Regions from separate parts of the Homo sapiens genome. Here regions 1, 2, 3 and 4 are each linked to region 5. The links are contacts of gene promoters, found by promoter capture Hi-C in human tissues and cell types (Jung and others, 2019). All regions are on one chromosome and are shown on one strand. Each heading gives the region's core, a stretch centred on a gene start or on the middle of the fragment in contact. The rest is flanking DNA. Distances are from core to core; before and after follow the strand shown.

Region 1 (2,766 bases), core at 98-2,597, 180 kb before region 5:
ATACATTAGAATATAGAAATACAGAAACAGATTCCTTTGCTCAATTTGGTTCACATATGAGATTTCTGTTCTTTCATTAAAAGCTCATTTCCTACACAAAATTAACATAATTACTTATATTTTTATCCTACAATGATATTCTGAATTGATTTTGCAAAATACTTAAGACCTGTCTTCTACCTTGGTAAGTAAAAAAAAAAAAAGTTTGTATTGTTTCAGCATAATCTGTAGGTATCTACGCAAAACCTACTCACGAGGCTAACTTCAGAAGGCTCATTTTCACCTCCCTATAAATCTGATTTCCTTTGTCCACTGACTCAGGCAGTTCCAACCCCCATTTTATAAGACACTTTCACCAAAGAACCAAAATGTCAGACCAAGTAAACAGCACCACGGATCACTTGCTTGTCATAAACGCAGCCAAAATGGCATTGCTGCTACAATGGCTATTTAAATCTGCTGTTTTTCTTCCCTAGATAAATCTAGAAAAATCACCATGTTCTTTGAGGGAAGCTGAGAGGGAAAACCAAAAAAGTACAAAACCAGATTCAGAAGAGAAAGGAAAGATTATCTTGAGTGAGGTTGTCCTCCAAAGACAACTCTTGGCAGAGGCTGGTGGTACGGGGAGACGTCAAAGCCTCCATGTTCAGGCGTCCAGGGTCCCAGCCTCTAAAACGGCTTCTGCCATCCATGGCCGCCAGACATTATTTTTGACTAAATTCCATACTTTTTTATCTGAATTGGCTTTTGCACATGAGACAGGCAAAGGGTTTAAAAATAGTTACACCATAGTCCATTGACTTCTCATTTTTATCACTTACACGGATAAGTCATTTTTAAAAATCAAGGGTATCTTTTTGATGTGCACCTAGCATTTGCGTGAGGGTGGTGTGTTAACACTGGAAAATAGGGCTAATTCAGACTTCCTTGTTACCGGGCCCCAGTTTTTAAGTGATCTGGAAGTCCTGAGTGGATTGTGTATCCACTGAGCTACTGCCCATTGTCTGGTAGTTCTCAGAGGACCGTGCAGAAACTGATAGGAAGTGAAATACTATTTGTGTTCGCTTGTGTAGGTGAATACATCTCCAGGATGAGGCCACCCATTTTGGCTTCCACTAACCCGGAGGAACCTGGAGCAAGGAAACCAAAGGAAGTATTCAGGAAGCTTCAGATTTGACTGCTGGCATTATAGGCAAGAATTACACACACATGACTTACTGTTCACTATTGGTGAGAACTCGTGTTCTCATTTCGGGCAATGTTTAGAATGAAGCTCCATTAAACATGCTTGCTCCGAGGAATATCCTTAGAACGGCCATGCTTCTTATTGTGATTGTTATGTTATTTTAAGGTAATTCTTGCCTTTTGGCTGGTTGATTGCATTCTTTAGTTTGAGGCTATGCTTCTGACCTCATTACTCCAATGTCCATCTGCGTCAGCGTCACCTTGACAACAAGAGCAGGGGATGCGTCTTGCATGAGTGGGTGGCCAAAGAGACAAACCTCTGGCTTTCTGGGAGCTCCTAGCGTTCTCCTTGAAACCCTTAACACATATGTGTTTTCTCTGCTCTACATTAGATCTCTAGACTTATCCTACAAAGCTGAAACTGTACTGTTTGACCTACAACCTCCCATTTCCCAGGTGTTCATTCCTGCTCCTTACACTGGTAATTTGCCAAGAGAGTAAATTTTAGGTTACCTTACTGTGATGGTTAATACTGAGTGTCAACTTGATTGGATTGAAGGATACAAAGTATTGATCCTGGGTTTGTCTGTGAGGGTGTTGCCAAGGGAGATCCACATTTGAGTCAGTTGTCTGGGAAAGGCAGACCCACCCTTAATCTGAGTGGGCACCATCTAATCAGCTGCCAGTGAATATAAAGCAGGCAGAAAAACTTGAAACGAGAGGCTGGCCTAGCCTCCCAGCCTACATCTTTCTCCTGTGCTGGATGCTTCTTGCCCTTGAACATCAGAATCCAAATTCTTCATTTTTGGAACTTGGCCTGGCTCTCCTTGCTCCTCAGCCTGCAGACCGCCTATTGTGGGACCCTGTGATTGGGTGAGTTAATACTTAATAAACTCCTCTTTTACATATACATCTATTGCATTAGCTCTGTACCTCTAGAGAACCCTGACTGATACACTTACCATGCCCGCACACACACAGCAACTGTGTGAAATGATGTCCGCATTAATTGGCTTGACTGTAGTCCTTGCTTCCCTATGAGTGTGCATGACCAGATCACTGGATCCAAACAGCGTGTCACACACCTTAAATACATGCAATACAGTAAATTAAAACTATGACGTTCCCATGTGTTCTTAGCATGATGAAAAAGAAATGCCAGATTCACAGTGTGTTTTCTGGGGAGAGCAAAGAGGGGAAATTTATGTGCCAAACTGGAGTCCCTTAAAAGAAAATGAATTTCAGATATTTCAGCCTGCTCTCACCAGGAGGGGTTCTCTGCTAATAATTGTGAAGGAACGCGATAGTCAGAGGCACAGAGGGCCTGAGTGCAGCTTTAATAACTTTGGACAGGACCTGGGTCCTGAGCGTGAGTCACGCTGAGGTCGCTGTGAACGGCTGAGCCCTGGGCTGTGAGTCAGCCCCTCGAGGCGCATGATACAGCTTCAGGCTCCACCAACAGTAGGTGCTTAGAGACTCATGGGCTGCTGGGTTATGACCGAATGAATCAGCCTGAGGGAGAAGATGGTTTTACGACAGAAAGTGGGACTGTGGTGCCAATTTTCTGTTTGAGTTTTGTGT
Region 2 (2,700 bases), core at 159-2,658, 220 kb before region 5:
TCAAAAGAGGAAAATTTTGCCTGGAAACTAGCTTTCAAGCAGAAAGGAAGGCAGAAAAAGTCCTGGGACATACACCTGACTGCAAAGACAATCATTAAATTGGCTGGAGAAATCTGCAAATACAGCAAATGCTATTTTTGTCCCAAGCTCGAATAGATCATGGCTTTTCCTAATTTAAACATCTCTGGTAAAATAGCTGAGTTTGAAGTCCAAATGTGGCAGATGTCTAAATAAGTTCTGTGCCTGTGTAAAGAATAAGCTGCCATGCAGGGGAAAATGCCTCTTCTGTCGGCAAGAAGTGGTTTCTGCTTTGGTGCTGTTCCCTGTGTCTGCATGTGCAGGAGTGACTTTGTGCACCTCCCTGGGTTTCTTCACCCTCCTGCCCTGTGGCTGAAGGGAAGTATGCCTGAGCGAATTCATGTTGCCCTCCCCGTTTTGTCTCATGGATCATGAGTTCAGACCTAGCACACTGTGCAGCACCCAGAAGCACAGTCCTGCTCAAAATGCTCCTTTCCACCGACACTTATCTCCCCTGCCTCTGACTTCCTCAGCATCACCGCTCCCTGCAACAGAGCCAGAGCTGATTGAAAAACACTTAGGTAAATATTGAGTTCCCCAGTCTGGGGCGATTAGAATTGTCATCTTCCCAATTCTGTGAAGAAAGGCATTGGTAGCTTGATGGGGATGGCACTGAATCTGTAAATTACCTTGGGCAGTATGGCCATTTTCACGATATTGATTCTTCCTACCCATGAGCATGGAATGTTCTTCCATTTGTTTGTATCCTCTTTTATTTCCTTGAGCAGTGGTTTATAGTTCTCCTTGAAGAGGTCCTTCGCATCCCTTGTAAGTTGGATTCCTAGGTATGTTATTCTCTTTGAAGCAATTGTGAATGGGAGTTCACTCATGATTTGGCTCTCTGTTTGTCTGTTGTTGGTGTATAAGAATGCTTGTGATTTTTGTACATTGATTTTGTATCCTGAGACTTTGCTGAAGTTGCTTATCAGCTTAAGGAGATTTTGGGCTGAGACAGTGGGGTTTTCTAGATATACAATCATGTCATCTGCAAACAGGGACAATTTGACTTCCTCTTTTCCTAATTGAATACCCTTTATTTCCTTCTCTTGCCTAATTGCCCTGGCCAGAACTTCCAACGCTATGTTGAATAGGAGTGGTGAGAGAGGGCATCCCTATCTTGTGCCAGTTTTCAAAGGGAATGCTTCCGGTTTTTGCCCATTCAGTATGATATTGGCTGTGGGTTTGTCATAGATAGCTCTTATTATTTTGAGATACGTCCCATCAACACCTAATTTATTGAGAATTTTTAGCATGAAGGGTTGTTGAATTTTGTCAAAGGCTTTTTCTGCATCTATTGGAAACTACCATCAGAGTGAACAGGCAACCCACAAAATGGGAGAAAATTTTCACAACCTACTCATCTGACAAAGGGCTAATATCCAGAATCTACAATGAACTCAAACAAATTTACAAGAAAAAAAAAAACAACCCCATCAAAAAGTCGGCGAAGGACATGAACAGACACTTCTCAAAAGAAGACATTTATGCAGCCAAAAAACACATGAAAAAATGCTCATCATCACTGGCCATCAGAGAAATGCAAATCAAAACCACAATGAGATGTGTGGCCATCTCACACCAATTAGAATGGCAATCATTAAAAAGTCAGGAAACAACAGGTGCTGGAGAGGATGTGGAGAAATAGGAACACTTTTGCACTGTTGGTGAGACGGTAAACTAGTTCAACCATTGTGGAAGTCAGTGTGGCGATTCCTCAGGGATCTAGAACTAGAAATACCATTTGACCCAGCCATCCCATTACTGGGTATATACCCAAAGGACTATAAATCATGCTGCTATAAAGACACATGCACACGTATGTTTATTGTGGCATTATTCACAATAGCAAAGACTTGGAACCAACCCAAATGTCCAACAATGACAGACTGGATTAAGAAAATGTGGCACATATACACCATGGAATACTCTGCAGCCATAAAAAATGATGAGTTCATGTCCTTTGTAGGGACATGGATGAAATTGGAAATCATCATTCTCAGTAAACTATCACAAGAACAAAAAACCAAACACCGCATATTCTCACTCATAGGTGGGAATTGAACAATGAGATCACATGGACACAGGAAGGGGAATATCACACTCTGGGGACTGTTGTGGGGTGGGGGGAGGGGGGAGGGATAGCATTGGGAGATATACCTAATGCTAGATGACGAGTTAGTGGGTGCAGCACACCAGCATGGCACATGTATACATATGTAACTAACCTGCACAATGTGCACATGTACCCTAAAACTTAAAGTATAATAATAAATTAATTAATTTAAAAAAAGAAGTTACTGAAAAATAAAATAAAATAAAATAAAATACTCTAAAAAAAAAAAAAAGAATTGTCATCTTCCAAACCTTAGACATGGCCAGACATCCCCAGTGGGCTGCCAAATCCTGTCACCGTGTGCCTTCCTTAATCCAACCAGGAACTGTGTTTTACCTTTCTACCCCACACTCCTCCCAAGATGCTCAACCTTGGTTTCATCATTGTACAGATGGCTGCAGACTCAGTTGTCCAACATTCCCCTGGGGTGAGCTGATGACCTGAACCCTAAGAACGCTCGATTTGAGAACAATGTGATTTAGTGTTGTTTTTAAAGACACTAAGTTTTG
Region 3 (2,700 bases), core at 76-2,575, 200 kb after region 5:
GGCCCCCAGGCCTAGGGCTGATCAGCGTGAACAGTACCCAGCACACTTGCTTCAAAAAGTAAGAAGATATAGAACACAAGCTGCTTGTTCTCATGACTATAGCACAAACTATAAAACAAAACATCTTCCTCCAGAACACGGCAAGCTGGATGGACAGTGATCTGGACAAAAATTTGCTGTAGGTTTTGTAACTGGGGTTCAGTGAGGACCAGGCTCCCCAGAGCATACATGTGGAGACAATTAAGTTGATCCCATTTTCCAAGACTCAGAGGAGATGTATTTATATTAGGAATATAAACTTGCTATTAATGCAACTTCAGAATGTCCAGGTCATCCGTTGGGAAAAAAAAAAGAGTAAGTCTAGGGCTGGTTCGTGCTGTTGCTACATGGAGGGAATCCACATCCAAGCCTGCCGCTCACATGCTGGGACACATTGCCTCAGCCTCCATCTCTGGGAGTCCCACGCTTTCTCTCCTGGGTTGTCCCACTATTCCTTTTGAAGTCCTCATGTTAGTGACAGTTCAATTTTCTCTTCACCTTCAAAATTGCAGAGAACCTAATTTCTACTGACCAGTCAAGCTTGTTTCATTTATCTTCCATGTTAACTTCAATTAAAATGTTAACCATCTGGAATCTTTGGCCTCTTATGTGACAAAAATAGGCATTAAATTGTATCATTTCTTAAATTCTCTGTTGAAAAGTCCAAATACGTTACTGAATATGATACAGATTAGTAAGAATTTGGGCTCATTAAATGTAAGATAATTTCATAGCTTAAGGTAATTTCACACCCCAAGGGACTTATAACCTAAACACAAAGCAGATCACCAACATTAACTGTCAGCTGTCCACTGGAGAACTATCTCAGACAAAAAAATAAAATTTGGATTAGCTCTCCATGGTGCACAATACTTTCATGAACCATCTCTTTTGGGTTGGCAGCTGCAGTGTGTTCTGAGAGTATGTTAATGCTACAATAACAGTAAAAATAAAATTAAGTTGGGAACATACAGAAAAAAAGAAATTGATTACATTATTCCTAATGACGACCTGAATCAAAGTTGGCACTAAATAAATTTTTGTCAGAAAGGAGAAAAGAAATGAGAGAAATAAAAGAGAGGAGGCAGGATTTTATATTCTGCTCCCTTTTTGGAAAAACATATTTGTGTGAGCTATATGAAATTGCTATTCAAAACCATTTGCATGTTGGTCATTGGGTATGGCTCAGTCTAGTCTTATCACCACGGAGATATCTGCTAGGTATCTGAGAAAGATTTCTTGGTGGTCCTGTCAAACGGTGAGTTGGTGCTGCCACCTGGTTCCTCCAGGCTGCTTGACCTGCATGTGGGTACATGACTCACACAGGTTATCTTTTTCTCCATTAAGTAGCCAATCATTTGCCAAACAGTGATAACAGCACCTTTACTCTGAAAACACCCAGGCGTCCTCCTTCAATAAGTCTGAAATACACACAGTTTTCTTTAAGCTAAGGAAAAAGAATGAGCTCCCACATCTGCAAAGAATGCCTTAAACAGAATGTCAAAAACGAACAGATATTGTTTATTCCAGCATGTTCAGACCACCCCCCTTGGTGGCCAGACTTGGGACCACGATCACATTCTTGCTTTGTTGTCTAAAGAACATGGACTTGCCAAAGTTGTGCAAGCCCCATGACATGTGCCACATGATATGAATCATCTTATCACGCAAGCACCAGAAGGAATCTTCACAGCCTGTAATCACGGAGACAGCAGGCTAGACAGAGCCGGGGCTCATCCTTCCTCCCCTGCACATCCATGGCTGGGCTGCCAGGGCTGCAGGTGGACAGCACTTGTCCACAGGTGTGTGCCCAGCCGTGGGCTCCTCACCAGCCTGTGTCCACTCGGTTGGTGAAGCAGGACCACCACAGATCAAGAAAGCTGTCCTGGGGCATGGGTGAGCAAAGACTGCGGGCTCTGGTACCAGGCGACCCGGCCTAGTGTCTGAACCTGGACTTTCCTTGAGACCTGAGCGCCCTGGCCTGCAGCTGAGCCCTCCCGGACACCCTGGCTGCTCTGTCCTGCGTGAGGTGCAGCTGGAAAGCCTGGCTCAGTCCTCGTCACACAGACCTTGGAAAAGGCCAGGGCCTCTCAGCCTGATCAAGTCGACAGACTTTGCACGGGAGCAGTATGCCTTTAAATGGATTTTCCAAGACAGAATGTCATGGCTTCTCTCTGTGGCACAGCTCTTGATAAGTATTTGGAAAGTGAGGCTAAGAATAACAACAATGCCTATCAAACACACAGGTCTATTAGAACAATGAGACGATGAATTGGAATCAAGTGAAAACTAAAAAGCTCTACATAAACATGTTATTTTTATTACTACCTTTTGATGAAGGCAGAGCAACCAACCAGTTTTACGTTACAACACACTGTTCACTACTTCAGAACATTTCATTATGGATAGAATAGTACAGATAAAAAATAAACATGATACATCCCACCATTAGAAAGGCAGATCTCTAAGGCATCCACTCACAGCACCACCTACTCCTCCTCTGAGTGGTGTGGGGAGCACTGCTGATCGGAACCAGGCAGGGAAGCCTCTTGAGTCTACAGTGGCCAAGTCCTTCACCCCAGGCCAGAGGCCACACCAGAGCCCTGCCCTCCATGCCCCCTGGCTTTGTTCTCTGCTTTCCTGGCTGCTGTCTTCCTAGAA
Region 4 (2,700 bases), core at 27-2,526, 150 kb before region 5:
CTAATTCATGTAGAACTCTGGCATTGACTAATTAATCACAGTATTCTTAGAAGTAAAATTGATAGGAAGCCTTAATTCCTACTTAATTTGTATAAGCAGAAAACTTCCAGGTTGAGTAAACAAAAGACTAATTTGAATTATAAAAATAGAGAATCATGGCCCCTCAATCTATTTCCAGACTTGAACCAGTTTTCAGACCCAGAACCTTTTGAATGAAGGAGAGGCCAGGTCCCCTTGAGGAAGGACCCTGCTACACTACTGACAATTTATACTGTTAATTTTTCTCCCATCGTACCTTGGTCTTTTATCAGGGTAACTATGCACTGGGGAAAGAGAAATGATCAGACCTCTCAGGGACTACTGGACCCTGGCTCTGAGCTGATGTTGATTCCAGGGGATCCAAAATGTCATTGTGGTTTGCCAGTTAAAAGTACAGGCTTATGGAGGTCAGGTAATTAATGGAGTTTTAGCTCAGCTCTGACTTACAGTGGGTCCAGTGAGTTCCCAGACTCATCCTGTGGTCATTTCCCGAGTGCCAGAATGCATAATTGGCATAGATATACTTAGCAGCTGACAGAATCCCCACATTGGCTCCCTGACTGGTAGAGTGAGGGCTATTATGGTGAGAAAGGCCAAACGAAGCCATTAGAGTCATTAGAGCTGCCTCTACCTAGAAAAATAGTAAATCAAAAACAATATCATATCCCTGGAGGGATTGCAAAGATTAGCGCCACCATCAAGGACTTGAAAGACACAGAGGTGGTGATTCCCACCATGTCCCCGTTGAACTCTCCCATTTGGCCTGTGCAGAAGACAGACAGATCTTGGAGAATGATAGTGGATGATCGCAAGCTTATCCAAGTGGTGACTCCAAGTGCAGCTGCTGTACCACATGTAGTTTCATTGCTGGAACAAATTAACACATCTCCTGTACCTGGTATTTAGTCATTACTTTGGCAAATGCTTATTTCTCCATTCCTGTCCATAAGGCCCACCAGAAGCCATTTGCCTTCAGCAGGTAAGGCCAGCAATATACCTTCACTGTCCTACCTCATGGGTATATCAACTCTCCAACTTTGTGTCATAATCTTGTTTGCAGGGCTCGTGATCACTTTTCTCTTCCACAGGATATCACACTGGTCCGTTACATTGATGACATTATGCTGACTGGACCCAGTGAGCAAGAAGTAGCAAACACACTGGACTTATGTACTGATCCATGGACTATAGCCAATGGTTTGGCTGGATGGTCAGGGACTTGGAAGAAGCATGATTGAAAAATTGGTGACAAAGAAATTTAGGGAAAAGGTATTTGGATGGATCTCTCTGAGTGATCAAAAACTGGGAAGATATTTGGATCCCATGTGAGTGCTCATCAATGGGTGACCTCAGCAGAGGAGGATTTTAATAATGAAATGGATAGGATGACTAATACAAATGTCATGTAAAATTAAAATTAGCATTAAGTGCAAAGAGGGCAGCAAAACACATCCAGACTGTTCCTCTTCCATCAGCTGACACAAACTTCAGAAATACCAGCTGTGGCTGGGTGTGGTGGCTCACATCTGTAATCCCAACCTTTTGGGAGGCTGAGGCAGGCAGATCACTTAAGGTCAGGAGTTTGAGACCAGCCTGGCCAACATGATGAAATGCTGTCTCTACTAAAAATACAAAAATTAGCCAGGTGTGGTGGCGGGCACCTGTAATCCTAGCTACTCAGAAGGCTGATGCAGGAGAATCATTTGCACCCAAAGGGCAGAGGTTGCACTGAGCCAAGATCATGCCACTGCACTATAGCCTGAGTGACAGAGCAAGACTCCATCTCAAAAAAAAAAAAAGAAATACCAGCTGTGAATAAACATGTATTTACATATTGGTTTTTTTGTTTGTTTATAATACTTAAAATATATAAACACCTTTCCCTTCTGAGAAGAAAAGATGAAAGCCTATATTTTTCACATTATACACATGTACATACAAATACAAATATATATGTGTTTTTTAGAATTTTGGAGGCACATCATGGGATTTGGTGTAGTCTAGTTTGGTCAATTGTGATAAGATAAGCATCTTGGGCTGGATAACACCAGACACCTTTCCTGTGTCCCTTTTATTATCTGAGTTGGCATAATAAGGTAAAGATATTAGGATTTTAAGGAGACTGTGAAAGACTATTTTATAAAATCATGGTAGAAGTTTCTCTCACTGGAGTAAACTTGGGAACTGTGACAATTTGACAATGAGCCCCTGGAACATGAAGGGAGATTTGTCCTTCAAATCTTATAAGAACAGTGATGGTGCATAAAGGCGATGATCCCAGACTTTTAACAAGAGGACAAGAAAAACGTGCCCCTAGTCACCATGGAGTGTGAGGAAAGTCTCAGAGAGGAGATATCTGGAGAAGGCTCCCCTTAATCTATGTGCAAGTTCTGGGCTCACTGCAAAGCTATGCATGCCTGGGTCTGACCCAAAGCAGCCCAGCGAAGGCTGTTAGAACCAAATGACAGGATTGAATGCTCCAGGGCCCAGCTGGCCCAGCATGGTGCACACTTCAGGAGGACCTGAATAGAATAGCTAAGGCTTTGAAAATGTAACTCACTTTGGAAACACAAGCAACAGAAGGTGGATTGGGTGTATAATCTGAACCTAATTCATAGATTGCCTGCAAAAGTTAGAAAACAAATGTACTTAAAATTTTCC
Region 5 (2,700 bases), core at 29-2,528:
AGATTCTTACAAGAGCAGGAGGCTAACAAAGCATCCCCTGCTGCGGATTGTCAAAGGACAGTGAGGCTCCATCCCACAGGAAGGATGAGCAGCCAGGCTACCTGGCCTCAGCCCATCCAGGGACACCGGGCATGCATGGATGGAGCCACGGATGAGCCAGTGCCGCTCACCCCTGCCCCAGCCTCTGCACGCCACACATCCACGTTTATGCTTGTGTTTTTCCAAAAGAAAGATTTCGGTGCCTGTCTGCAGCAGAATGTAGTTTGAATTTGCAAAGGTCTTTTAAAACTCTTTTCGTATGAACAATCAAAGTAAAAGATAGCTTTGCAGAGAGCTAATTGTTTACCGGCCGTCCACCACCAACAGCAGTCTGATTAAACACCAGACTCCTGGGTGCTCAGCTCCCAGTCCTGGGCAGCCAAACCCACCTTCCTTAAGTGGTAGCCAGGCAACCTGCCAGCTCGCTTTTCATATGCAAACTGCCCCAAGACTGTTAAAAGTCGCTGTGTGTCCCGGCAGTCACAGGATTTTCCATAGACTTACCACAAATACTCTCTAGTTATGTTCAAAACCACTTTTCAGCTGCTAATAATGTTAACAATCAGAGTCTCTCTTTAATCTACTAATAATGTTAACAATCAGAGTCTCTCTTTAATCTACTAATAATGTTAACGATCAGAGTCTCTCTCTAATCTACTAATAATGATGTTAACAATCAGAGTCTCTCTCTAATCTCCAGTTACTTTTCAGATATTCCGGGAGTTGTTTCTAATTCTCTCCTCAATAACAAACTCTCATGTGGAATCTTCTTCTTCGGAAACTGAAAACATAAAGCGTTTACCCGGGTTCCCAGGCAGGTATATACATTGAAATAGCAGCAGCCACAACCCTCAGAGAGGAAGGGGTGCCCGGCTGGTGAAAGCACAGCCACGGAGGAAAAGCTGAGGAGCGGCCACGTGCCTTGCTCTTCAAGCGGGCAGTAGAAACACCACGTGAAGAAACACTTGCCATTTAGTGTTAATAGATACACCACCCACCTTAAGTTAAGAATCGAAATTGCTCCTTTTTCTTCTCCGCTTCTTAGAGTTCGAGAACTCTAATTTCTTAAAATTAGAGCACCATTAAATAATTGATTGAGTTTAAGAAATAATCGTACCTGGTTTGCCAAAAAGATGCAGTGATGACTGGTTTCAGTGTTCCGGACCGAGTCAGAAAGGCGCAGGCTCTGCTGGAGCGAGAGACCGGCCCTGCAGTGCAGGATGCTCCGGTGGACGTGGCCGAGCGGCTCCCGGGCAGCGCGGCTTTATATGCCGCTTCTCCTGTGCAGGGCTGTCAATCAGACACACGAGGAAGCACGTTTAATTCATTCCTTCGAAGGAATGACATCATCCCCCTTCTGATCTCACCATTTGCTCCGAGTACCTGCTGCAGGGGTCCAAGTCCAGCCCCTCTGTACTGGATGCCGTCTCCTCCTCCTGCACCCCGGCCCCTGCCAGACAGGCCTGGGAGGAGCCAGACGGAGAGAGGGAAGGCAGGGACTCACTTTTCCTGTCTTCTCTCAGGAAATAAGATGCTATAAATAACACTAGCAAGATTGGCTAGAACTCCTCATTTTGCTTAAGAGAAAAAAATGCAAGTTCTATGCCTTAAATATGTTTCGAATTACTCAATGTGATATTGGTCTTTCTAAACCAAATGAGTGACTCTCAATAACACATGAAATACATCGGTGAGTATCAATAATCAGTCTGTATATTAATAAAGTTATTATGGTCAATAATCAAGTGTATTATGTGACAAAAATGAAATTTAATATAAAAGGAAGTTGCCAACATTTATCTCAGGCAGTTAGAGGACTGAAAAGCTGTACTGCAGCTTTGGGAAAATTCATTTTTACCCAAATTCTGCTTCATTTGCTCAGTGAGGATCCCCTAGAAGGACGTCTCCCAGTGGACGTGCAATACCCGTAGAAGGGTGTGTCCCAGTGGACGTACAGTACCCGGCCAAGTCCCCTTGGTGCACACTTGCACGTGGCCCCATCACAGGAACAACCTGACGTGCAGGCACAGAGCAAGGACTCGAGAGAACGAGAAGCAGTGGCAGCAGCTAACCCCCGCCCCTCCCACACCTCAGGCATCACCCGCAATCAGGGTGCACTCTGCATGGGGGTGGGGGGCACCGCTTCTCAGAGGTCAGGGTGGACGATGGATGCGGAGGGGCTGCTTCTCCCAGGTCAGGGTATACAGTGGAAAGGGGAAGCTGCTGCTCTAAGGTGGGGGTTGATGGTACATGGGGGAGGGGCTGCTTCTCCCAAGTTGGGCTGGACAGTGGATGGGGGAGGTGCCACTTCTCCCAGGCCAGTGTGAAAGGTGGATGGTGGAGAGGCTGTTTCTCCCAGGTCAGTGTGCAAGGTGGCTGGGGATGTGTTGTTTCTCCCAGGTCAGGGTTAATGGCAGACAGGGGAGCTGCTGCTTCTCCTGGGTTGGGGTGGACCTTGGATGGGGGAGGTGCTACTTCCCCAGGTGGGGTGGATGGTGACTGGGGAGCTGCTGCTTTGCCCGGAGCCACCTGCACCTGCTTCATGTCGGCACCTGCCTGTCAGGTTCCTTCACGTTTGTGTGGAGTTGTCAGCCTGGCCATGGATCCGTCAAGTCCTAGTTAGAGAACATTAAAGCGAATTTCTGTGGACACAACCCTTAC

What was found. The method cuts DNA at HindIII sites, captures the fragments that hold promoters and counts their contacts. A contact is called where the count stands out against the background at its distance.
Region 1: a contact is called between a fragment that was not itself captured here and the fragment with the promoter of THBS2 in region 5, in 1 of the 25 tissues and cell types used here (mesendoderm cells).
Region 2: a contact is called between a fragment that was not itself captured here and the fragment with the promoter of THBS2 in region 5, in 5 of the 25 tissues and cell types used here (H1 embryonic stem cells, aorta, bladder and 2 more).
Region 3: a fragment that was not itself captured here is called in contact with the fragment with the promoter of THBS2 in region 5 in 1 of the 25 tissues and cell types used here (IMR-90 fibroblasts).
Region 4: a fragment that was not itself captured here is called in contact with the fragment with the promoter of THBS2 in region 5 in 2 of the 25 tissues and cell types used here (H1 embryonic stem cells and IMR-90 fibroblasts).

What each region holds. Positions count from the first base shown.
Region 1 is chr6:169,068,116-169,070,881 of GRCh38, forward strand. It overlaps LOC102724357 (a long non-coding RNA gene), which reads left to right. Exons shown (of 2, transcript NR_134619.1): 2 at 1,074-1,309. Among named protein-coding and RNA genes, the nearest start is that of LINC01615, 93 kb to the right of the region's middle. RefSeq lists an enhancer at 1,699-2,766. The HindIII fragment of the contact is 4,836 bases long and covers 1-2,766 here.
Region 2 is chr6:169,031,023-169,033,722 of GRCh38, forward strand. No RefSeq gene overlaps it. Among named protein-coding and RNA genes, the nearest start is that of LINC01615, 130 kb to the right of the region's middle. The HindIII fragment of the contact is 5,289 bases long and covers 1-2,700 here.
Region 3 is chr6:169,453,047-169,455,746 of GRCh38, forward strand. It overlaps a transcript of WDR27 not described here. Among named protein-coding and RNA genes, the nearest start is that of LINC02519, 66 kb to the left of the region's middle. The HindIII fragment of the contact is 5,881 bases long and covers 1-2,700 here.
Region 4 is chr6:169,100,746-169,103,445 of GRCh38, forward strand. No RefSeq gene overlaps it. Among named protein-coding and RNA genes, the nearest start is that of LINC01615, 61 kb to the right of the region's middle. The HindIII fragment of the contact is 7,926 bases long and covers 1-2,700 here.
Region 5 is chr6:169,252,568-169,255,267 of GRCh38, forward strand. THBS2 (thrombospondin 2) reads right to left here and starts at 1,279. Exons shown (of 22, transcript NM_003247.5): 1 at 1,157-1,279. RefSeq lists enhancers at 1-353, 354-865. The HindIII fragment of the contact is 15,923 bases long and covers 1-2,700 here.